Regions from separate parts of the Homo sapiens genome. Here all the other regions are linked to region 1. The links are contacts of gene promoters, found by promoter capture Hi-C in blood cells and fetal thymus (Javierre and others, 2016). All regions are on one chromosome and are shown on one strand. The core of a region is centred on a gene start or on the middle of the fragment in contact, and the rest is flanking DNA. Distances in the headings are between cores, read along the strand shown.

Region 1 (4,720 bases), core at 1,191-3,690:
TTATAGTGGTAATGTTTCAATAAAACAAATTGTGGCTTCATTCGAAAGTGTTCCAGTTAAAACTTAAAAAAATACTTGCAGAGTATCAAAACTTTAAGGTATACTAATTGATATTACAAGGGATTCCCTTGTAATTTTATGTATCTGTCTATCTGTCTATCTATCTATCATCTATCTGTCTATCTATTATCTGTCTAACAATCAATCGATTGATATATCTATCAGCATAAGTCTTCAGATTTGCCAATTCAGACTTTTACTAGCAAGAAGAAAAATCTTTAGAATAATAAAATTTTAGACTAAAAATTAATCAAATTTTAAAAGCATTATTTGTTGTCATAATCTTAGTTCTCTCAGGGTTAGATTATTATGTCAACCAGTGTTTTAAGTTTTATTCTAGCTTCATAATTCAGTCTCTCAAACTAATGTGTGGAGAAGTCAAGTCAGAGTAGCAAAAGTGCAAATTATTATTTGGTTTGGAAATACCAAGTTTAGTATAATTTATTAAATCAACTCAACAGATACACAGTGTGCTTCTCTTTACATAAAGCAAACAGAAAACCTTAGTTTGGAATGAGAGTGACAATATGTGTTATATTTTCATAGCAGTTTGCTGGCTTCCAAGCACTTCCACTTAACTAATCAACTCCCGTTCTTCCCTCAGCCACACACACCCTTTCTCATCCAGCATATTACCTTGTGAGTTTTTGTCAAAGCACTTAAAACTTTCTGGAATATTTTATTCTTTCTCACATGTTTAACAGTTCAGTGTCAGTCTTTTCTAATAAAATTTAAATTTCATGAGATTTAGGCACTTATTCTGTTTCATTTATTCACAAAACTCCTGTGATAGCAGCATTAGGTGTATATATTGATTGAACAATCAGTGAATCAAGGACTACGTCACTGAATGAGCCCATATTGTTTAAATTGATCACAGTAGTACACACCATGATTCTGCTTTTACAGATGGAGGGAATTTTCCTTGGGTGAAGAATGTTGCCAACTTTACATGGCTGGTAAGTGGGAGTGATACAGCCCAAGCCTCCTGTCTCCCTCTTCTACAGTGAAGGTTCTGCTGAACCTTCCATGTGATAATTTGTCCTGCTTAAAAATATTTTGGACACATACTGTATTTACCTAATACAATAATACATGAAACTTATAGATGGTAAAATTCTAATTGGATCATCAACATAAAAGTATAAGGAAAAATTATCATTAGCTCATCATCATGAAAATATGAAGCCATTCTTTTTTCCCCCTTTTTTTAAAAATTAGCCTTTATTTTAAGTGCAGAGGTACATGTGCAGGTTTGTTATATAGGTAAACTTGTGTCACGGGTGTTTGTTGTACAGATTATTTCATCACCCAGGTATTAATCCTAGTAGCCACTAGTTATTTTTCCTGATCCTGTTATTTGAAAACTGACAGAGTCATTCAACTGGGCACAGTCTCCAAGTTATCTGCTGAATGCAACTGGTACAGAATAAGCACACGAGGTGGATGACTGTGGTGAAAGAGTAGCTGTTCAATCTGGACAGGTTTTTGCTTCCTGTGAAAAGGGAATAAAATACTAACTTTCAGGATTATTGAGAGTCTTAAATTGATATGTGAATTTTATCTAGAACATGTCTGGTAGTAGTATGTGCCCTCAAAATATTCCTACATACCAATAACAATATCGATGTTTCTGAAAATAATAACAAGAGACAGTTAAGGAACATTCATGATGTCCTAGACAATTTCCTAAGGATTTTATAAATCTTATCTCATCCTGATGAAGCACTATGACAGAAAGAACATTTTTTAGAGTTCTATAAAGGAATGGAGACTAAGCCTGTAACTAAAATGCCCATTTCACACTATGATGGAGACCAGTATTTTGAAGTAGCTAACTAAAAATCAAAGCTAGGATTTTAATCACTACAAATTATTGTGTATTTCCCCTCTATCTAAAGAACCTCAAGAAACTATCCAGAACATACATTTGTTCATTCAATTCTTAAGCATATAAAGACAATATCTTCATGATGTGGGTGAACAGTTTTGTTCTCTGTATCAGAATCTGTATTGATAAATAATTAGCGATAAGTATATTTGAGTGAAATAACTTATTAAAATATTTATTTAATATCAAATATAAGTAAATAACTTTATCTGACCCATGGAGGACACTAAGTTGCATAAAATTTAATTTTGAACAACTTCTAAACAACAGAAACAACAACAAAGCATCTGCCCAATTTGAATATAAAGAATATTATGTAGGTTCATAGAGGACCACTTGAGTTGCCTTCAAAAATGTAAGGACCAACAATGTAGATTACAACTAGAAAGGGATCAAGACTACGATATTTAAGAACCATCTTTCCATCATTTGATTCTTCGTGAGTGTTCAGGATTTCTGTTTCCCAGGTCCAAGCTTCATCATCCACCGATGCCCAATTCAACCACCGTGATGGAATTTCTCCTCATGAGGTTTTCTGATGTGTGGACACTACAGATTTTACATTCTGCATCCTTCTTTATGTTGTATTTGGTAACTCTAATGGGAAACATCCTCATTGTGACCGTCACCACCTGTGACAGCAGCCTTCACATGCCCATGTACTTCTTCCTCAGGAATCTGTCTATCTTGGATGCCTGCTACATTTCTGTTACAGTCCCTACCTCATGTGTCAATTCCCTACTGGACAGCACCACCATTTCTAAGGCGGGATGTGTAGCTCAGGTCTTCCTCGTGGTTTTTTTTGTATATGTGGAGCTTCTGTTTCTCACCATTATGGCTCATGACCGCTATGTGGCTGTCTGCCAGCCACTTCACTACCCTGTGATCGTGAACTCTCGAATCTGCATCCAGATGACACTGGCCTCCCTACTCAGTGGTCTTGTCTATGCAGGCATGCACACTGGCAGCACATTCCAGCTGCCCTTCTGTCGGTCCAACGTTATTCATCAATTCTTCTGTGACATCCCCTCTCTGCTGAAGCTCTCTTGCTCTGACACCTTCAGCAATGAGGTCATGATTGTTGTCTCTGCTCTGGGGGTAGGTGGCGGCTGTTTCATCTTTATCATCAGGTCTTACATTCACATCTTTTCGACCGTGCTCGGGTTTCCAAGAGGAGCAGACAGAACAAAGGCCTTTTCCACCTGCATCCCTCACATCCTGGTGGTGTCAGTCTTCCTCAGTTCATGCTCTTCTGTGTACCTCAGGCCACCTGCGATACCTGCAGCCACCCAGGATCTGATCCTTTCTGGTTTTTATTCCATAATGCCTCCCCTCTTTAACCCTATTATTTACAGTCTTAGAAATAAGCAAATAAAGGTGGCCATCAAGAAAATCATGAAGAGAATTTTTTATTCAGAAAATGTGTAAGAAACCCGAGAGGCTCACCCTAGGCTGTTTTGTGATATTCATGTTTTCAGGAATAAGTTGTAATAATTGATTGTGGTTATTAGATAAAATTGGTGTAAATTTAATAAATAAGGCTACTAAAATGCATCATGTATCAAAATCGATATTTCCTTTCAAAAGTTTTTGAATAATTTTAATATGCCATTGGGTAAAAAAATCTGGTGTTATGAAGAAGACAATTCTAATAGTACATGTTTTCAAGTTAATGACTCACTAAAAAAAATCATAAAGCCTAAAATATTATCTTTAAAAGTATTTTGTGTTAAAGTTCTGTTCTATATTCATCCACTCTTCAACTTTTGGTAAGTCCAAAATAAAAATGGTGTCAATTAATTTTCAAAAGCCATATTTAGTATTATAGAAGAAATGAAAACATTCAGTTGTGCATTCATTCAAAGTTAAATATGAGAAATGTATGTTTTTGGAGGACCATAAGAATATGAGTGAAATGCATACTGTGAAAAGATGAGTGGATTTGTCAGGTCATAGATGAGGGGATTAGTAACACTTTACATAGCTTCCCTTTTATGTTAAAGAAAAGCTCTAGATACATCATACTTATCAGCCCACGATTTTACTAAAAATGCATTCAAGTGCTTTGGGGATACATTTATTTTATTATCTGTTTTAAGTGGCTCACACCCTATATTCCAATTTATTATCAACTTCTTCTCCATACATCCATTAAGGCCTTTGAGGAGTTAATAGTATTGTCTTGTTTTGTGATGGTGTCATGTATCTGAAAGATTTATTTTGATGGCCAATAGTAACAGCCGTTATCTGGTAGCTTATATTGCAATAATCAGTAATCCCAAATTCTTAGTAGGATAATATAACAAAGGTTTACTTCTAGTTTATAGTATCTTTCAAATTCAGATCGTAAGCAGGGCTCTCTGTACTGTATATCCTTGAAAAATAAAATGCAAGATAAGAAGCCAGTCACACTGAAACATGATTTTAAGCGTTGACCAAAAAAATGCCAGTTGGAAAAGGTGATGGGAGCACCCACCTCAAAGCCTAAGCGACTATTTCATCTTAGAGCTGAACACATCACGTTTATGAGTTCTTTTGTGAATATGGAAATAACCCAAAGTATCCCCCTGCATGCCTTACCTGACTGTTTTGGCATCTGCTGTGGAAAGAGACCCTTGAGCTCACAAGCAAATGAACAATTGATAATATTTAAAAAGCAACCCAAGTCTTCATTTTGACAATAAGAGTTAATAATGAGTAATGTAAAATATATATTTGAAATAAAGATTTGAATATACATTATGACTTCAAGGGTCATCACAATTAAAG
Region 2 (4,720 bases), core at 1,052-3,551, 440 kb after region 1:
AAAACAAATTAGTCTTTGTCCAGGTACAGTGGCATGTGCCTGTAGTTCCAGCTACTCAGGAGGCTGAAGTGGGAGGATCCCTTGAGCTCAGGAGTTTGAGGCCAGGCTGGGCAACAGAGTGAGGTCCAGTCTCAAAAAAAAGAAAGAAAAAAAAGTCTTTAATTTTAAATAAATAATTGTAATTCGGCCAGGTGTGGTGGCTGATGCCTGTAATCCCAGCATTTTGGGAGGCCAAGGCAGGCAGATCACGAGGTCAGGAGATCGAGACCGTCGTGGCTAACATGGTGAAACCCCATCTCTACTAACAATACAAAAAATTAGCTGGGCCTGGTGGCAGGCACCTGTTGTCCCAGCTACTCGGGAGGCTGAGGCAGGAGACTGGCATGAACCCGGGAGGCGGAGCTTGCAGTGAGCTGAGATCGCGCCCCTGCACTCCAGCCTGGGCGACAGAGTGAGACTCCATCTCAAAAAAAAAGAAAAAAAAATAAAATTGCTAAAAGTAGATTTCCAATGTTCTCACCACAAAGAATAAGTGTATGAGGTAATGGATATATTAATTAGCTTGATTTAGTCTTTCCACAATGTCTACCTATATCAAGCCATTGTACTCTGAGAGACTTTCTCATGTGATGCCTCAGCTGTCACTGTGGACTTCCAATTTCAGGGTTTCCTGTGGGGAGGGGCTGCCTTCTTCTACCTCCAGGTAAGACTGATCCAGGCCAGCATATAGCAGTGCTCCATGAGGTGGAAACACCAGAGACACACAGGGATGGCCCAGGACCCTGGAAGCAGAGGGCGTCAGTTCTCGGTTCAGCCCCCTGACCACAGTCTGGGGCACACCCCTCACCGAGCCAGGTGACTGCATCTGCAGCTGCATTATGCACCTTCTGCTGGCATCTTGTGCAGAGCAAACAAGAGCAAAAAAATTAAAAAAGTAAAAAAAGTAAAATAAAAAAAAGTCAATCCTCTCTGTACATATGCGTAGCTGCATTCTTGGAAAATTCAGCCCAAAAGCTATGTTGCCAGATGCTTTGCATTCGTATGTAAGACTGATTTAGGTTCTAAGCCCCAATCATTATAACTTTTGTCCACCTAGACATTCTACAGTCTGTGAAAGATTGGGACAATCTTTTGTTGTTCAGGACCATCCCCAAAGTTACAAGATGTCTAGCATCCCTATTTCCTGCCCATGAAATTGCATGAGTCACCACTGCCACTAATAATAATTGTAATCATGCTAAAACACCTCCATAAATCACCAAAACACTTCCCAGGGGATTGCACCTCCCTGTTGACAACAACTACCTGATTGTTAAAGGGTTTTGTTAATGAAAAGGTCAGTATTGACAGAAATAAAAAAGAACGCATCCATCAGCTCTGATTGGTGGATGAGACGGGAGTTAATAGCCACAGATTTCCAAAAGAACATGTCAATAATTGTACAATCATGTCTTGGTGTATCAGTCACATGGATTAGATTATGTTGCCGTAGAAACCTCCACACCCTAAGTTCCAGTGGCCTAACAATGTCTCCCCCACGCTCCATGTCTGATTGGCATTGACAGAAGCACCCTGCTCATCCTTATGACTCAGCACCTCTGACTGGTAGAGCTTTACCTTACCACATGAGTTCATTTTCACAACTGCAGTAGAAAGAGGATGAGGTGAACCTCCTAAAGTGGCTTCTAAAGCTTCCCCTAAAAAGTGGCAAATGTCACTTCTTGCCAGAGCTAGTGTCAAAGTCATTTTGCGACACACAGAGGGTGGGGAAGTGCAATCCAACATACATTCAGGAGGGGAAAGAAATAAACATTTAGTGATTAGCTCTGATGACTACTCTGATGGATTCAAACTCAGTGCCCACGTACTAACTGTGCAACAAGTGCATATTGCTCGGCCTTTGCAAATCTGTTTCCTCATCAGTAATAGTAACAAAAATCATAGTAGCTGCTGCTTATTGGTCCCTTATTGTGTGTACTAAACATTTGACATTTCACTGGGTTGACAGAAAACTTACAGGGTAAATGAGGAACATAATATATTTTAACAGCAATGTCATGAAAACTAAACAAGATAATGTATGCAAACAGTAGCTGGTGCTTGAATAATTACAACTGAGTTCAGCTCTGTGAAAGGTACGGTAAGAGGTGGGGAAGAATAGGCCAGGAGGCTCAAGAGAAGACGTCAAAGACGTAGACATAACCTTCAAGAAGGATATGGGCATTTGGGAAGATAAGACATGAGTGCAGAAAACTGTAAGATATTCTTCTTGCTGTGGCAACTCTGAGGAAGAATACAAACAGGTTGTGAGGAAGCAGAAAAGGAAGAAAGGGGACACCAAGCTAGGGTGAAGAATAAGCTGAGGTATAAAGACAGATTGAGATTCCAGGGTCTAGGGGGAGGGACCCCTATGTCACATGTGGCGAGGGCATGGAGAAGAGTTTCTGAGAGTTCTCAGTTATGTTATGCTATCTTGAGTTATCCTCCCAATGGATCTGGGTTTTCCCACATACTTGTAATCAGCTCCCGCTGGCATCAACATTAACACTTGTCTAATCCAATCCCCTCTTTTTCAGATAAGAAGTCTGAGGCTCAGCAAACATATAAAATTTGGCTGAAGCTGAATGACAATTGATCTGGGTTTCCTAGTTCTCTCTAATGCCTGTTGCTCTCACCCCCACCAACTGCCATCCCTGGCCACTGTCCCATCTCCCCAGTTCTGAGATGAATATCCAGGAGTGTGCTCTTGTATCCATGCAGGGTCTGGGAGAAGATATTAATATATCCAGAGAAACACTGACCCTCCCTGGGGAACATTATACCCTCCTGCCTCATTGATGTCAGACATGGTCAAATGACTTGCTCCCATCAGTGCAACGTGAGCGGCAGTGATGTGTGTCCCTTTGTAGCAGAAGCTTTCAGGAATAGTCTGTGGTTTGCGGTGCTCCCTTTTCACTCCACATGACAACTAGTGATTCTTCATGCAGAGTCTTCTCCACCAGCTGGGTCCCAGGTTAAGATGACACAGAGTAGAAATGCAGCTTACTCAGATAACATAAACAAGAAATAAATATTTAATGTTTTAGCTTCTGGCACCTTGGGGTCACTTGCGATAGCACCATTACCTAGCCTATCCTGACTCACATATGTGACACAGCTATTTTCTCTCACTTGCTATCGACACTGCTGGCTAAAGACCATGAAGGTTCTATGCCACAGCATGTACCTTACACAAAAGTAAAAGGTATGTTTCTACTCTCTAAATCCTCAAGACGTGGGACACAGACCAGGAGTGGAAACAGTTGAAACACAAATGTGGAATACAACTGAGCAGGTGCATTCATCAACATGGGGCACATTCAAATGTCCTAATCTTCTGGGCTGTTCATGGATAATTTTCTTCAGAAGGGTCTTTTGAGAAAGGTTAGAATGGTGAAGGGTGGCACATCCAATTTTCTCCTTCTAAAGAAAATGGCAGGAAGGAAGAGAAGCCTGGGCAGGGGCAAAGCTGTTCCTTAATCACTGTCATCCCAGGCAAGAAGTTTTATTGCTACCCACCCTTAATAACATATGGATAGACGCAGGTCAAAGAGATGAAGAGATGTGAGGGTGTTAGTCATCCAGCCCCCAGCCTGGGATCACCCACCGCTTTCACAGCCCCTAGCAGCCACCCACCCAGGATAACAGGGCCTCATGGAGTGTCTGAGGGTTCTTGCCCATGTTCACCAGGGACAGATGGTGTTTGCATGTCTTTCAAGGACAGACCTGTATCATGCAAAGGTGAAGGAGGAAATAAAGACTCTGCAAACATACTCAATCCCCATTTATGACACCCATTTATATAGCTAGCAGCTGACCAATTCATCAAAATTCTGCCCTTCCTGAACACATAAAATGGGTGCAAAATAACAGGTCAAAGCTCAAGCGGCCAGGAAGGAACCTGGATGGGAGAGAATCAGGCTGAGCATAGAGTGGTGCCCATGGTAGAGCCCATCCTAGAGAAAGGCACCAGCTGCGCAGCTCCCCGTCAGACTTCAGGTTCCTCATGGACCCATCAATATCTGCTATGCTCCTTGTAAGAACTTGTGCATAAGGGAAGTATGAACGCTTACAGTTTTCTTATGCAGATTCTAAAGCCAAAGTGCCTGAGCTCTAAGCACCTAGAACAGTATGTGGCATGACTTGTTCTGAATAAGTGTCAGCTGCTGCTGCTACGATGCTCCCACCCATCACTTCCATAGAGCTTGTAGCCAGAAGCACTGACATGTTAGGGATAGTCCAAACCTGAGACTTGAAAAATGAGTGAAATTCAGATGGGGTTAAGGGCCCCTGGTCTATGGAACTCCCTCTTCCAGGAGCCCGGAGGGAAAAGGAAGAGGCAGATGTTGTGCGTGGAGAAGCCACCAGACCAAGCATGAGGATCTCAAACCTGAGTCCCAGCTTTTCTTTGGTTTAGCTCAAGAGGTAGGAATTGAACAGCCCCAACTTGGAGGACCAGGGATGAGGTGTCATCCTGTGGCCCACATTTGCTTAGCCAGAAATGAGAAAGGGTCAAAAATTACAACACATTAGTCTGAAGATCTCAATTGGCTATTAATTGCAATTATAATTTTATTTCATTTTATTGAGACAGGGTCTCACTCTGTTGCCCAGGCTGGAGTGCAGTGGTGCAATTATGGCTCACTGCAGCCTTGAACTCCTTGGGCTCAAGCAATTCTCC
Region 3 (4,720 bases), core at 1,311-3,810, 360 kb after region 1:
TTCCTTGAGCAGCCACACTCCCACTCAAAGCCTTTGCACTGGGTTTTTCCTCTTCCTGAATCGCTCTTCCCCTACATATCCATGAGGTTTCCTCCTTTTCTCTCTCCTACCCTTTCTTCAGGCATTCACTAAAAAGTCACTCTTTCAGTGAGACCTTCCATGATCACTCTACTGAAAATATTAACTCCATCTTCCAACAGCCTTTCATATTTCCTTCCCTACTTTATGTTTTCTTCTTAGCATTATGCAACCTAACATTATACTTATCTAATTTACTACACATTATACTTACCTAATTTACCACCCATCTGCCCAACTGGAATGAAAGCTGTACAAAGACAGGGATGTTCATCTGCTTTGTTCACTATCTTATCCCCAACACTAGAATAGGACCTGCCATATAGCATGAGCTCAAGAATATCGGTTGCACTGAAGGATGAATGCATGAAAAGGTGGATGGATGAATAAACAATGGAAAAAGAAACTTGACTTAATTAGTAGCTACATTATGAATAACCACAAGATGGAGACATTCATTAATAAAATGTTATCCCTCTGTTTTTTTGTTTGTTTATCTGCTTCTTCCTGTCTGTATTTGTGTGTCTTGTTTACCTCTGTTTCGCACTATCTGTTCATATCTGTATGGGGCATGTGTGTGTCTTTTCTTCCCTTTTTTATTTTGTGTCATTTCTTGTAGAGTTGGTTATATTTTTCTTTCTCTGTCCATGTAGTCTGCATTTGGCAATACAAAATAAAAGTCAGCACTGAAATTTATTTTGCCAAGGTTAAGGATGCATCCAGGAGACAGGTCTGTACTTATCTCCAAAGATGATTGTGAGGGCTTCAAAATTTAAAGGGGGAAAGACAGATACTGGGGAAAGAGGAAAAAATGTTTTAAAGTGTGGGTAAATAGGAGGCAAGCAGTGGCATGCTTTCGAGTCTTTGATAAGCCCTTCACTTGTGAGAAGTAGGTAGAGGAATAGTCACTTATGCATTCATCTGGCTCAATTAATCTGCATTTTTATATAATATAAACATAAGGCAGAATGTTGGGGTGATCAGACCCAACACCAGGTCACGGGAGTGAGAAAGTCTGGCAGAGTCAAAGGACTGAGAAAAAGACAGTTGGAGAAGTAAAGTGGGACCACGGGACCATCACAATTGTGGAGGCTGTGAAGGCCCGGAGCTCTGGGAGCCCAGTGCTATTTATTGGTAATCCAGCAAAGAAACAGGTGGTAAGAATGTGGAGGCTGAAAGGGCGTGTTGCATTAAGCACATGATTTACAGCTGTGATGGTTTAGCATCTGCTCTGCTACTTGAGAAAATGGAGAGCAGGTTCTTTTAACTCAAGGTACTGTTGATCCTGGGAGGGCAAGGAGCAAGGAGCAAGGAGCCAGCAAGTCTAGACACATTCCAGAGCTGCGAGCCCTGGATTCTGTCCAAGCCATGAGGGATTTTATGCCCTGGGCTTAGATTATGGTGCATCAGGGTAGCCTTCCACCCATTAGCACAGAGCTTGGTGTTCCAAAGACCACAAGGGGATTTAGACCCTGAACCCTGGACATGTTCCAGAGCTCTTTTACGTTATGTCAGATATGCAAGCCCCACCTCAGCTTCTCCCAACACTCAGCTTTTCCCAACACAGAGGAAGAAATCTGATATGCATTTGTCTCAGGTGGGCAGAAGAATGACTTTGAATTCTGCCCTTTGTCCCATACCTGTGAAGATACACTATCAATTTACATTTTCAGGCTAAAATTCAGCAGAACTATTTTAGGGTAAAGGAATTTCCTAATGTACAAATTGTGAAGGAGGTATGTAGCTTTTCTTTTCTTTTTTTTTTTTAATCTTTGAGGTTATCTTATTTAGGAATAAAATGGGAAACAAATTTCCCTGATGCAGTTCCCAGCTTGACTTTTCGCTTTTGCTTAGTGAGCCCGGAGTCCTGAGATTTATTTTCCTTTCACAGTTCCCATGTCAAAGTTGGACATGGATTTGCTGGAGTGGAGGCAAGAGGCACAGATACCAAAGGACCTTTGGGGCTGAGTGTTGGATGGGTCATCTACACAGATTTGAAAGGGGGCAGGCCTGGGGTTGGGAGAGCACCATGCTTTTGTCTTAGAGACCTGACCTCTGAGAAGGATCGTCATTGACCCGAACTGGGGTCTGCCCACCCAGCTGGTAAGACCAGATATATACACTGAGGTTTGCAGCAGTAAAAAGGAAGGCAGTTATTTGCAGAGCACCAAGCAAGGAGGACCAGGAAGCTAATGCTTAAATCCTGACCTCTGAGGTGGCTTGCAGGTAATGGTTTTTAAAAGCGGGGTAGGCCAGCGCGGTGGCTCACGCCTGTAATCCCAGCACTTTGGGAGGCCAAGGTGGGCAGATCAGCTGAGGCCGGGAGTTCAAGACCAGCCTGACCACCATGGAGATACCCCATCCTTACTAAAAATACAAAATCAGCTGGGTGTGGTGGCAGAGCCAGCTGTGGTGGCGGCGCCTGCAATCCCAGCTACTCAGGAGGAGGCTGAGGCAGGAAATCACTTGAACCTGGGAGGTGGAGGTTGCAGTGAGCAGAGATCGCACCATTGAGGCGGACGTTGCGGTGAGCCGGGGTCATATCATTGCACTCCACCCTGGGCAACAAGAGCGAAACACCATTAAAAAAAAAAGAAAAAAAAAAGCAGGGGTAAATTTCAGGAAAGCTACAGGCAAAGTTGTAAATCAATCCTGGAGGTTACACATTGGTTTTGACCTAAACGGGTGGGATATCTTGAAGTGGGGCTTACAGGTCGGGGTAGATTCTAAGATTTTCTGATTTGCAATGGTTAAAGAGTTTTGTTTAAAAATCAAACAAAAAAGAATATTAGTGCTGGCTCATGGGTATGACCTTCTCCAGGCCCCTCAGAAAGAAATTTCTAATGGCAATCACAGTTCAGTCCTTAGTTCTCCCTTATCTGAGGTCTGTGTGTCTGCAGTTCCATTTTGTGGGGCTCCAGGTTTCTGAAAACTAGCTCAGGAACATATGTTAAGATATTATCTTTAATTTCTATGGGGAGCCAAACATCTTCTGGCTCTAGTTTCTTTGGCTATTGTTTTAAACTACTATTACCTTCTTGCTTATCAAATTGTTCATTTACTTTTCTAAGCTAGCTAGGTGCCTGGAATTTTCCTTGAAGGTACTCAAGAATTTCTTTTATGTCCATGCCTGGGGGACCCAGAGACCCCTAAGAGGGGTCCCTGCTCTGTCTCAGGATCCAAGAGCCAGAGCAATGAGGAGCCAGAAATTAGCTGCGGTCATCAGCCTCTGTCTGTGGAAAGCGAAGAACAGCCTCTACCTGAGATTACGACAGGGAAAATCGTTCCTCCCTTCATCTTTAAGCCCCTCAAGCACGCTGCATTATGTTCAGTTACCTGGAGCAATGGTCTACATTATATTTCGTACTCTTTTCTGCAGGAGGCAACAGAAGATTGGTTCTGCATTTTTGTCAAATTTCTTGTAGGGCCAAGCGCAGTGTGGCTCACACCTGTTATCCCAATGCTTTGGGAAGCCGAGGCAGGAGGATCACTTGAGGCCAGGAGTTTGAGACCAGCCTGGGCAACATAGACACCCTGTCTCTACCAAAAACATAAAAATAAAAAATTAGTCAGGCATCATGGCGTGTGCCTGAAATCCTAGCTACTTGGGAGACTGAAACAGGAGGATCGTTTGAGCCCAGGAATTTGAGTTTACAGTAAGCTATGATTGTACCACTGCACCCCAGCCTAAGCAACAGAATGAGACCCTGTCTTTAAAAAAAAAAAAAATCTAGTAGGACATCATCCATAATGTTCAGAGTTCCATATAAAAAGATTCCTATAATCTCTCTCAAAAGTTTGTTCTGTTGATGATCTAAACTTGCTTTGTGTGTGCTAATTCCCTCTCAAAGACAGCCACAGCCATAAATTAGTTTCCTGGTACAGTGACCCTCCCCTTCACCCATTGTATAACACAGCTTTGTAATATTTTCCTTAGTGTAACAGTTCCAATAGTCCTCATTTATAGATACCTTTTGTTGACAAAAAATATATATTTGAAGAGATTTTATTCTGAGTCAAATGTGAGGGCCATGACTCATGATGCAACTTCAGAAGGTCCTGAGAACACGTGCCCAAGATGCGTGGGTTACAGCTTCATTTTACATATTTTAAGGAGACCTAAGACATCAATCAATACATGTGACATATACATTGGTTCAGTCCTAAATGGTGGGACAACTCAAAACGGGGCTCACGGGTCACAGGTGGCTTCAAAGATTTTCTGATTGGCCGTTGGTTGAAAGAGTTATGTTATTATCTAAAGACCTGGAATCACTAGAAAGGCGTGTCTAGGTTAACATAAGGGGTTGTGGAGACCAAGGTTCTCATTATGTACAGAAAGCCTCAAAGGTGGCTGCCCTTGGAGGCAAGAGGTGGCATCTTTAACACATGTGATGCTGATACTTAGTTGGTGCTTGTTAATTTTTGTTGGTGAATGATTCTTATTCTTGATCTAAGATGGCAATTTTCTGTTATTTGAGGCTTTCTATGTAACTCTTCAAACATGGAAAACAACATGGAGTACTATGTGATGATAGATTTCAACTTTAGGGGCAACATTTATTGATTTTAGACTTTTAATAGAAATCAGCTGTCAAAAAATTAGCTGGGCATGGTGGCGGATGCCTGTAATCCCAGCTAC
Region 4 (4,720 bases), core at 1,401-3,900, 340 kb after region 1:
AAATGTTATTTTTTATAGGACAGGTAGAACCTATGTTTAATGAAAAAATTTGAAGATAATCTTTTGTCCAAATGCTATAAATGATACAGTCACTTTGAAGCATTTCATTGTATCATTAAAACAAGTAATTGAAAAGAATTGCACTCTTGGCAAAGCGCGGTGGCGAACTCCTGTAATCCCAGCACTTTCGGAGGTTGAGGTAGGTGGATCACCTGAGGTGAGGAGTTCGAGACCAGCCTGACCAACATGCTGAAATCCCGTCTCTACTGAAAATACAAAATAGCTGAGCGTGGTGGCACATGCCTGTAATCCCAGCTACTCAGGAGGTTGGAGCAGGAGACTCGCTTGAACCTGGGAGGTGGAGGTGGCAGTGAGCCAAGATCGTGCCACTGCACTCCAGCCTGGGCAATAAGGGCATAACTCCATCTCAAAAAGGAAAAACAAAAAGAATTGTACTGTCACACAAAGTCAAGTGACGAGCAATACATATTTACAATGAAAATGACAAAGGAGCACTATCCCTGATAAACGACAAACTATAAAAACACATTAGCATAAACAATGAGCAAAGTATATGAACAAGGGCTCAGAAAACTGGAAAGCTAATGACCCAATAACAATTCAAAATGTGTTCAACTTTACTAGTTATGGAAATGCAAATTAAAACTTTAACATGATGCTATTTTGTGTCCATTGCTTTAGAAAACATATGTCTGGCAAGTAAAGTCTCGACAAACATGTGAAGGGACGAAGCTCTTTGCTGCTGCTTAGTTTGCTGTGTAAGCAGCCTACCTACTTTGGAGGGTCAACTGGAAATTTTGAACACAACTGAAGATGCGCAAGTTTGATGCAGCAATGCTCCTTCTCACAAATGTACACTTGAGTTTTAAAAAATGACATATGTGAGGATGTTTGCTCCATGACGTTTAAACCCCTAATTACCATCACTAGGAAAATGGATAACATACCCTACTTTATCCCAGAATGGAACACTCTCTAGAAGTTAAACTGAATGGGATACTCTACATCAATATTGAACATTTCAACATAGTTTTGAAAAAACCCCACAAACTATTACACAAAATATGTTCCCAGTCATATGCATTTAAACATTCAAATTGTGCAGTGCATTATTTATAAATACACACACATACATATATATATATATATATATACACACACACACAGATAAGCTTGTATAAAACAGTTACTGGAATGAATACAAATGCCAATAAATGGGGTAGCGGAGGGAAAAAATAAGTTGAAAACATTGAACAGTAATTATATCTGTAATATTTTAACAGTTAAGATCATTAAAGCAAACAAAAATATGAATAAATGATAAGCCTAAGTGCTCGTTCTTAAAAATCATTTGTTATACTCTTTCTAGATTTTGGATATTTCATATTTTTAATATTATTTATACATTAATGTCAAAGAAGCAACTGAAATACTTTTGTGTGTTATAAATTGCTTTTATATTTTATATATTTAAATTGCTTGTAAAATTCAGTGAAAAAAGCTCTCTTTTTTCCACTGTTTTCTTTGACATTATAGATTAAATAAAATACCTCACATATTAAAGTAATAATCTCAAAAAATATGATTAAACATTAATAAAAAAGTAATGGGGACTCAGGTGATTACATTCTGCATATTTTGACATCCATTATAATACTATTTAACAATGCAGAGTAACTTTTAAAACTGGGTTTTTGTTCTGACTTTTTAATAGAACTCAATGAAACAAGTAATAAAATGGTTGTTAATTGGTTTGTATTTAAAATATCTCAACCAAACAACCAAGAATTGCAGCTGTCCCATAAAACAAGGCAAAAGGTTACCCACCCTTCCAGCAGAATCAGCAGTGTACAGGAGTATACTATCTCCCGGGTTAGCTTGCTATCGGTAGATGTAAAATTCTACAAAACTGCCACGTGGCCAATTCCTTGTAATGTATTATCTAGAGAATGAGAAAATAATAATGCTCTTTCCTTGATTCTAACACTCACATTTCTGCACTGCTAAAGGAAAAGCATCATATAATTTATATATAGTTGTGTATATATAGTGCATATATAGTTCGTGTATATATATACATATAAATATACATGTATAGTATATATATACATATATATGTATAGTTGTGTATATGTATACATACATATATATGTATATATAGTTGTGTATATATTTGTGTACATATAGTGTGTATATATAGTTACTGTTTATTGAAAAGTTATTAAATTAATATTTTCCTTGAAAATTGTCTACAATTTGAAATTGAGGACATACAAAACAAATCTATAGGGATGCAAACATATTATCATTATGATATATAAGCATATATACAATACACCTATTCAAAATATTAGGCAAATTGATGTGCATTTATTAACAAAAACTTAGTAGTTAACACATTGGTTAAAAAGACACAATACATTTTCATATACATATGTGCATCATTGATAGATATAAGTTGAAAATTTTGAATATATTATTTTTAACCGTAAAGCATATTGAATTAAATATGTATAAAGATTTCCTGCTTCCAAGTCTGTCTATTTTAAATTCACACATGTGGTATGATGAGTAATAAGATTAAAAGAGACCTGAATTCTTGTCATGTTCTGACACAGCTGTTTTAAGTTGGGGAACCTACAAATACATTTTAATTTCAATTTACTGAAATGTAAAACTACACTCAACAAGATGGCCTCTGCTGCCCCACCTCTGAGAGCATTTGTATCTAATCTATATGAAGCCTTTTTACTTCAGTGTAGTTTTCTCTGAGTGGCCTGATGCTGAAGAGCTGCCCTTTATCCCACTTATATCAAGCAAAAGAGCAACACTGAGGAACAAAACCAATACACACTGCACCATGAGCTGCTTCCACTCTAGTCTCAAACTAAAAATAGATCTCTCCAAAACTGATTAAAATGATAAAAATTCAAGCAAACTGAATGCACTATTTTGTTTGCTTGTTTCATTGGAAAAAAATATGAAACATAATTACTAAGAGAACAATTAAATCACTTTAAGCAAACATGTCTTGATTTTTTTCTCATAAAAAATTTGAAATGATTGCTTACATAAATCTCATGTAGACAAATTCAATTTCCTTATTGGGTAAATATCTGAGAAATACAAGACCAGCAATACCTTGATTAAATAACATGTAGCTTCTCAATATGTATTCACTGTCTGGACCAATGATGATAAAGAAACAGTTCTGAAGTTTTCCTCTGTGTCTCACCAGAAGAAGTGACCCAATTTAACATGCAAACTCAGTGATAGAGAAAACCTGATGTATAATATATCAAGGAGACAATCTTCTCTGTTAGTTTCCCATAGAGACTGGGCCGCCACAGTCTGGAGGAGATTGGCTTCCAGAAGGAAGCCTGGGGGACGCTGGTCTCAGGAGGATGCTGCCTCCTCTGGGTTAAATTGTAAATTACCTGCTGAAACAGAAAGCAGAATATGGAGTAGGTGCCAACTGAACTCAGAGTCCGTGAGGAAGTGATGAGCATGAGATATAGAGATTTTCATTAAGAGAGTGAGGAGAGTAAACAGTGAAAAAAGTAAAGGATTTATATTTTCACATTTCATAAAATAATCTTCGATAAAGTACAAAACCCAGACATTTAAGTACTCAGAAAATAATAAATTGTTTTACTTCATCACTATGCCTAGTCAGTATGCCACATGAGAGCAGTTAAGTGCGTATACTCAGTTTACTTTGCAGTTACAGCAGCCTGTTTCTGTATTGCACATAGACTCTCAGAAAATTATTGGCTTAATGGAGACAATCATCATGCTTCTCATCTTCCTCCAAATCTATTTGTTCCACAACCAGTCACAGACCAAGAGGATGGGTAGATCTCACTAAATACGATCATTTGAAAATTAGAAGTGAATAGAAAAATCTGGCAGAAATTTAGGAGATATATATTTTATCATTTCATTTTTCAAATGAGGAAAGTGAGTCTTAATATAAAAACTTAAGACAAATTAAACTTAGCAGACTTTATTTGATCAAAGAATGATTCATTATCAGATCGCACTACAGATCAGAAGAAATTCAGAGAGCTCTGCCCAGCAGTGTGAACAAGCTTTTATGGGCCAGACATAGGAGCAAAGTAGAAAAATCACCTGCTTGCCTACAGCTAGACATCCGTCTTGTTTGAACATGGTGTTATTTAATTTTGGCAATACTATAAGGCAGTAGAAAAATATTGCACATATGTACATACATCCAGATATAGATAGACATGTAACAGAAACATTACAAATTTTTAGCCATGTGCCAGGTACAATAATACAAATCTCACTAATTTATTAAAGAATATCTGGATCTAAATTGTTTTTGGCTAATGCCACTTAAATGGCTAAAGCTTCTTACTAATATTTGTGAAAAAGATCATTAATGTTTTTTTATTTGCTCAGTTTCCAAATATCTATTTTTCTTACTTCTACTTCTGATGAGTTATCTACCCTAAACTTGCATTTTAAATAGATACCTATTAAACTCTAGAGAAGACTGTGTAGAAAATTTATATCTCAAAAGCACAGAGCTTGGACTTCCAGCTTAAATGCTTTAATTTGCCCAAACCAAGAAAGAAAGATGTAAAGACCCAGTTAGGGCAAGACAGCTAGGAAAAGCACTTTAAAGGCAAGGCTTCTGTAGATTTAAGCCAACGCTTTCTTCCTTATCAGAGTT
Region 5 (4,720 bases), core at 1,373-3,872, 270 kb after region 1:
GATCCTTTAGCAGAAACTCTACAAACCAGAAGAGGTTGGGGGCCTATGTTCAGCATTCCTAAAGAAAAGAATTTTCAACCACGTATTTCATATCCAGCCAAAGGAAGCTTCATAAGCAAAGGAAAAATAAGATTCTTTTCAGACAATGCTAAGGGAGTTCCTTACAACCAGACCTGCCTTACAAGAGGTCCTGAAAGGAGTGTTAAATGTGGAAAGAAAAGACCATTACCAGTCACTACCAAAACACACTTAAATACATAGACCATTGACACTATAAAGCAACCACACAAACAAGCCTGCAAACAAACAAAAAAACACCTAGGAATAGGATGACAGGATCAAATCTACACATATCAATGTTAATCTTGAATGTAAACAAGCTAACTGCCTCAAAGGGCACAGAGTGGGAAGCTGGATAAAGAAGATTCAAAGGTATGCTGTCATCAAAAGACCCATTTAACATGCAATGACACCAATAGGCTCAAAGTAAAGGGATGGAAAAAAATCTACCAAGCAAATGGAAACAAAGAAGCAAGGGTTTCGATTCTAGTTTCAGGCAAAACAGACTTCAAACCAGCAAAGGTCACAAAAGACAAAGATGGCCATAATATAATGCTACAGGTTTCCATTCAACAAGATCTAACTATCCTAGCTATCTATGCATACAACACAGAAGCACCCAGGTTCATGAAGCAAGTTCTTAAAGACCTACAAAGATACTCAGACTCCCATACAATAATAATGGGAGATTTCAGCATCCCACTGACAGTATTGAGGCAAAAAGCTAACAAAGAGACTTGAGACCTAAACTCAACACTTGGCCAAATGGACCTAATAGACATCTTCAGAACTCTGAACCCCAAAACAGAATATACATTCTTCTCACGTGTACACAGCATATACTCCAAAATTGACCAATCGGACACAAAACAATCCTCAGCAACTTAATTATACCAACCATATTCTTGGACCACAGTGCAATAAATAGAGATCAATACTAAGAAAATCACTCAAAACAAAGTTATATGAAAATTAAATATGCTAATGGTGACCTTTTTGTAGACAACAAAATTAAGGCAGAAATCAAGAAATTATTTGAAACTAATGAGAACAAAGGTAAAATATACCAGAATCTCTAGGATGTAGCTAAAGAAGTGTTGAGGAGTCTGCAACACTAAATATCCACATGAAAAAGTCAGAAAGACCTAAAATTAACAACCTAACATCACACACTTAGAACTAGAGAAACAAAAGCAAACCAACTCCAAAACTAGCAAAGAACTAATCAAAATCAGAGCTTAATGGGAGGAAATTGAGATGTGAAAAACCATACGAAAGATCAACGAATCCAGGAGTTGGTATTTGAAAAACATAAAGAGACAAATAGACCACTAGATAGACTAAGAAAAAAGAGAAGCTACAAATAAGTACAATCAGGATTGTCAAAGAGTTCATTACCAGCAACCTGACAGAAACACCAACCAAAGAAAACCCTCAGACTACTATGAACAGCTTTATGCTAGAGAATCTAGAAGAAATCAATGAATTCCTGGACACATACAACCTCTCAACATTGAATCAGGATGAAACAGAATCCCTGAACAGACCATTAAAAAGTTCTGAAATTAAATTCACAATAGAAAGCCTGCCAACTACAAAAAGTCCAGGACCAGACAGATTCATAACTAAATTCTGCAAGAGGTACAAAGAAGAGCTCATATCATTCCTACAGAAAGTATTCCAAATAATTGAGGAGAGACCCCTCCCTAACTTATTCTATAAGGCCAGCATCATCCTGATCTCAAAACCTGGCAGAGACACACACACAAAAAGAAAAACTTCAGGCCAGTATCTTTGATTAACAGATGCAAAAATCTTCAACAAAATACAAATAGAATCTAACAGCACATCAAAAAGTTTATCCACCGTGACCAAAGTAGGATTCATCCCTGGGATGCAAGGTTGGTTCAACATCACATCACATAGAATTAAAAACAAAAACCAAATGATTATCTCAATGATTCAGAAAAGGCTTTTGATAAATTTTAACTCCCATGTTAAAAACTCTCAATTAAACTAGTCATTGAAGAAATATACCTCAAAATAACAAATGCCTTCTATGAAAACTCCACAGTGATCATACTGAATGTGCAAAAGCTGGAAGCATTTCCCTTAAAAACCAGCACAAGAAAAGGATGCCCTCTCTCACCACTCCTATTCAACATAGTATTGGAAGTTCTGGCCAGAGCAATCAGCAAGAGAAGGAAATAAAAGACATCCAAATAGGAAGAAAAAAACCTCAAACTATCCCTGCTTGCAGACAACATGATACTATATCTAGTAAACCACATGGTCTCTGTCCCAAAGCTCCTTGATCTGATAAACAACTTCAGCAAAGTTTCAGGATATAAAATCAAGGTACAAAACTCAGTAGCCTTCCTATGCACTAACATTCATGCTGAGAGCCAAATCAAGAATGCAATCTCCTTCATAATAGCCACGAAAATAAAATATCTAGGAATACAGCTAACTGGAGGTGAAAGATCTCTACAATGAAAGTTACAAAACACTGCTCAAAGAAATGAGAGATGAAACAAATGGAAAAGCATTACATGCTCACGAATAGGAAGAATCAATACCATGAAAATGGTCATCCTGCCCAAGGCAATTTCCAGATTCAGTGCTATTCACATATAAAACTACCTATGGAATTCTTCACAGAATTAGAAAAAAATATTTTAAAATTCACATGGAACCAAAAAAGAGCCCAAATAGCCAAGGCAATTCTAAGCAAAAGAACAAAGCTGGAGGCATCACACTACCCAACTTTAAATCATGCAACAGAGCTACAGTAACCAAAACAGCACAGTACTGGTACAAAAACAGATATATAGACCAATGGGACAAAGTAGAGAGCCCAGAAATAATGACACACACCTAAAACCATCTGATCTTCAACAAGGTGAACAAAAACAAGCAATAGGGAAAGAACTCCGTGTTCAGTAAATGTTGCTAAAATAACTGTATAGCCGTAATGCAAAAGATTGAAACTGGACCCCTTCCTTATACTACATAGAAAAGTCAACTCAAGATTGATTAAACCCTTAACTGTAAAACCTAAAACCATAAAACATCTGGAAAATAACCTAAGAAATATCATTCTAGACATAGGACCCAGAAAAGATTTTACGGTGAAGATGGCAATAGCAAGGTCAAGCAAGGTCAACAAAAGTGAAAACTGACAAATGGGATCTAATTAGACTAAACAGCTTTTGCACAGTGGGCAAAGGATATTAACAGATACTTTTCCAAAAATGACTTACATGCAGGCAACAAGGATATAAAAAATGCTCAATATCACTAACCATTAGAGAAGTCCAAATGAAAACCACAATGAGATACCATCTCACACCTGTCAGTGTGTCTATTACTAAAAAGTAAAAAAATAACAGATACTGGTTAGGTTGCAGAGAATAGGGAATGCTTATACACTCCTGTTGGGAATGTAAATTAGTTCAGCCATTGTGAAAGTAGTTTGGCAATTTCTGAAAGAACGTAGAATTACCTTTTGACCCAAAGGAATATAAATCATTCTACCATGAAGTCACACACACACACATATGTTCTTCACAGCATCGTTCATAATAGCCAAGAAATGGAATCAACCTAAATGCACATCAATGGTAGACTGAATCAAGAAAATACTGTACATATACATCATGGAATACATGCAGCCAGAAAAAACAAGATCTTGTTTTTTGTGGCAATGTTGATGGAGCTAGAGGCCACTATACTAAGTAAACTAACACAAACAGAAAACCAAATACCACATATTTTCACTTATGAGTGGGAGCTAAACAGAGTACCTATGGACACAAAGAATAACAGACCCCCCCACCGGGCCTACTTGAGGGTGTAGGGAGGAAAGTGAGGACTGAAAACCTACCTATCAGGAACTATGCTTATCACTTGGGTGGTGAAATAATCAGTGACATGCAACTTACCTATATAACAAACCTGCACATGTACCCCTCAACCTGAAATAAAAGTTGGAAAAAAAACTTTAAAAAAGAGAGAACGTCTCAAGGACAAATGCTGTTAGAATAAAACTACCAATCCCGAATTGTAAACCCAGCTATACTATCATTCAAAAGTAAGGGTAGTTAGACAGGAGAAATAAGTTTAGATCTATTGTATAACATGATGATTACAGTTTATATCTACGTATTATATATTTATTTTCAAATTGCTAGATTTTAAATACTCCACCACTCAAAAATTATAGGATGTGAAGTAATTGATATGTTGATTAGCTTGATTTTGTCTTTCCAAAATGTGTATATATGTATATACATATTAAAACATTGGGTTGTACACCATATATACAATTGTCAATTAAAATATAAACTTAAAAATTTGAAAGAAAATGGTAATAAAAAATTAAAAGGATTAAATTAACAAAAGATATTTTCAGGCCTTTTTTGAAACATAAGTGTTTACCACTCAGTGAAGGGACTCTTATGTTTAAAGCATAAATACAGAAGAATCAAGATGTTGGGAGAAAAAACAGCAACAAAGTTTTGGAAGCTGGAAAGCCAAAGGAAACTGTTTTTGACTCAAAAATCTCAAAGCAGAACACTGAGCTGGTGAGTGGAGAAGTTCGGAAGCAAGTTGATTCCTGCTGGAAGAACTCCTAATCAGGTCTGTCTAAATATTACAG

Evidence for each region. The method cuts DNA at HindIII sites, captures the fragments that hold promoters and counts their contacts. A CHiCAGO score of 5 or more calls a contact.
Region 2: a contact is called between a fragment that was not itself captured here and the fragment with the promoter of OR14C36 in region 1, in 4 of 17 cell types (non-activated CD4 T cells, naive CD4 T cells, naive CD8 T cells and 1 more). The highest score is 7.2, in non-activated CD4 T cells.
Region 3: a contact is called between a fragment that was not itself captured here and the fragment with the promoter of OR14C36 in region 1, in 3 of 17 cell types (naive CD4 T cells, naive CD8 T cells and total CD4 T cells). The highest score is 7.0, in naive CD4 T cells.
Region 4: a fragment that was not itself captured here is called in contact with the fragment with the promoter of OR14C36 in region 1 in 1 of 17 cell types (naive CD4 T cells); the score reaches 6.7 in naive CD4 T cells.
Region 5: a contact is called between a fragment that was not itself captured here and the fragment with the promoter of OR14C36 in region 1, in 1 of 17 cell types (naive CD4 T cells). The highest score is 5.2, in naive CD4 T cells.

What each region holds. Positions count from the first base shown.
Region 1 is chr1:248,346,335-248,351,054 of GRCh38, forward strand. It overlaps OR14C36 (olfactory receptor family 14 subfamily C member 36), which reads left to right and starts at 2,441. Exons shown (of 1, transcript NM_001001918.1): 1 at 2,441-3,379. The coding sequence starts at 2,441. The coding sequence ends at 3,379. The HindIII fragment of the contact is 2,948 bases long and covers 2,424-4,720 here.
Region 2 is chr1:248,784,705-248,789,424 of GRCh38, forward strand. No RefSeq gene overlaps it. Among named protein-coding and RNA genes, the nearest start is that of LYPD8, 31 kb to the left of the region's middle. The HindIII fragment of the contact is 1,224 bases long and covers 1,690-2,913 here.
Region 3 is chr1:248,703,321-248,708,040 of GRCh38, forward strand. No RefSeq gene overlaps it. Among named protein-coding and RNA genes, the nearest start is that of OR14I1, 2.9 kb to the left of the region's middle. The HindIII fragment of the contact is 9,630 bases long and covers 1-4,720 here.
Region 4 is chr1:248,683,604-248,688,323 of GRCh38, forward strand. OR14I1 (olfactory receptor family 14 subfamily I member 1) reads right to left here. Exons shown (of 5, transcript NM_001004734.4): 4 at 1,849-1,963. Among named protein-coding and RNA genes, the nearest start is that of OR14I1, 17 kb to the right of the region's middle. RefSeq lists an enhancer at 3,185-3,384. The HindIII fragment of the contact is 2,919 bases long and covers 1,192-4,110 here.
Region 5 is chr1:248,613,450-248,618,169 of GRCh38, forward strand. No RefSeq gene overlaps it. Among named protein-coding and RNA genes, the nearest start is that of OR2T10, 18 kb to the left of the region's middle. The HindIII fragment of the contact is 5,034 bases long and covers 106-4,720 here.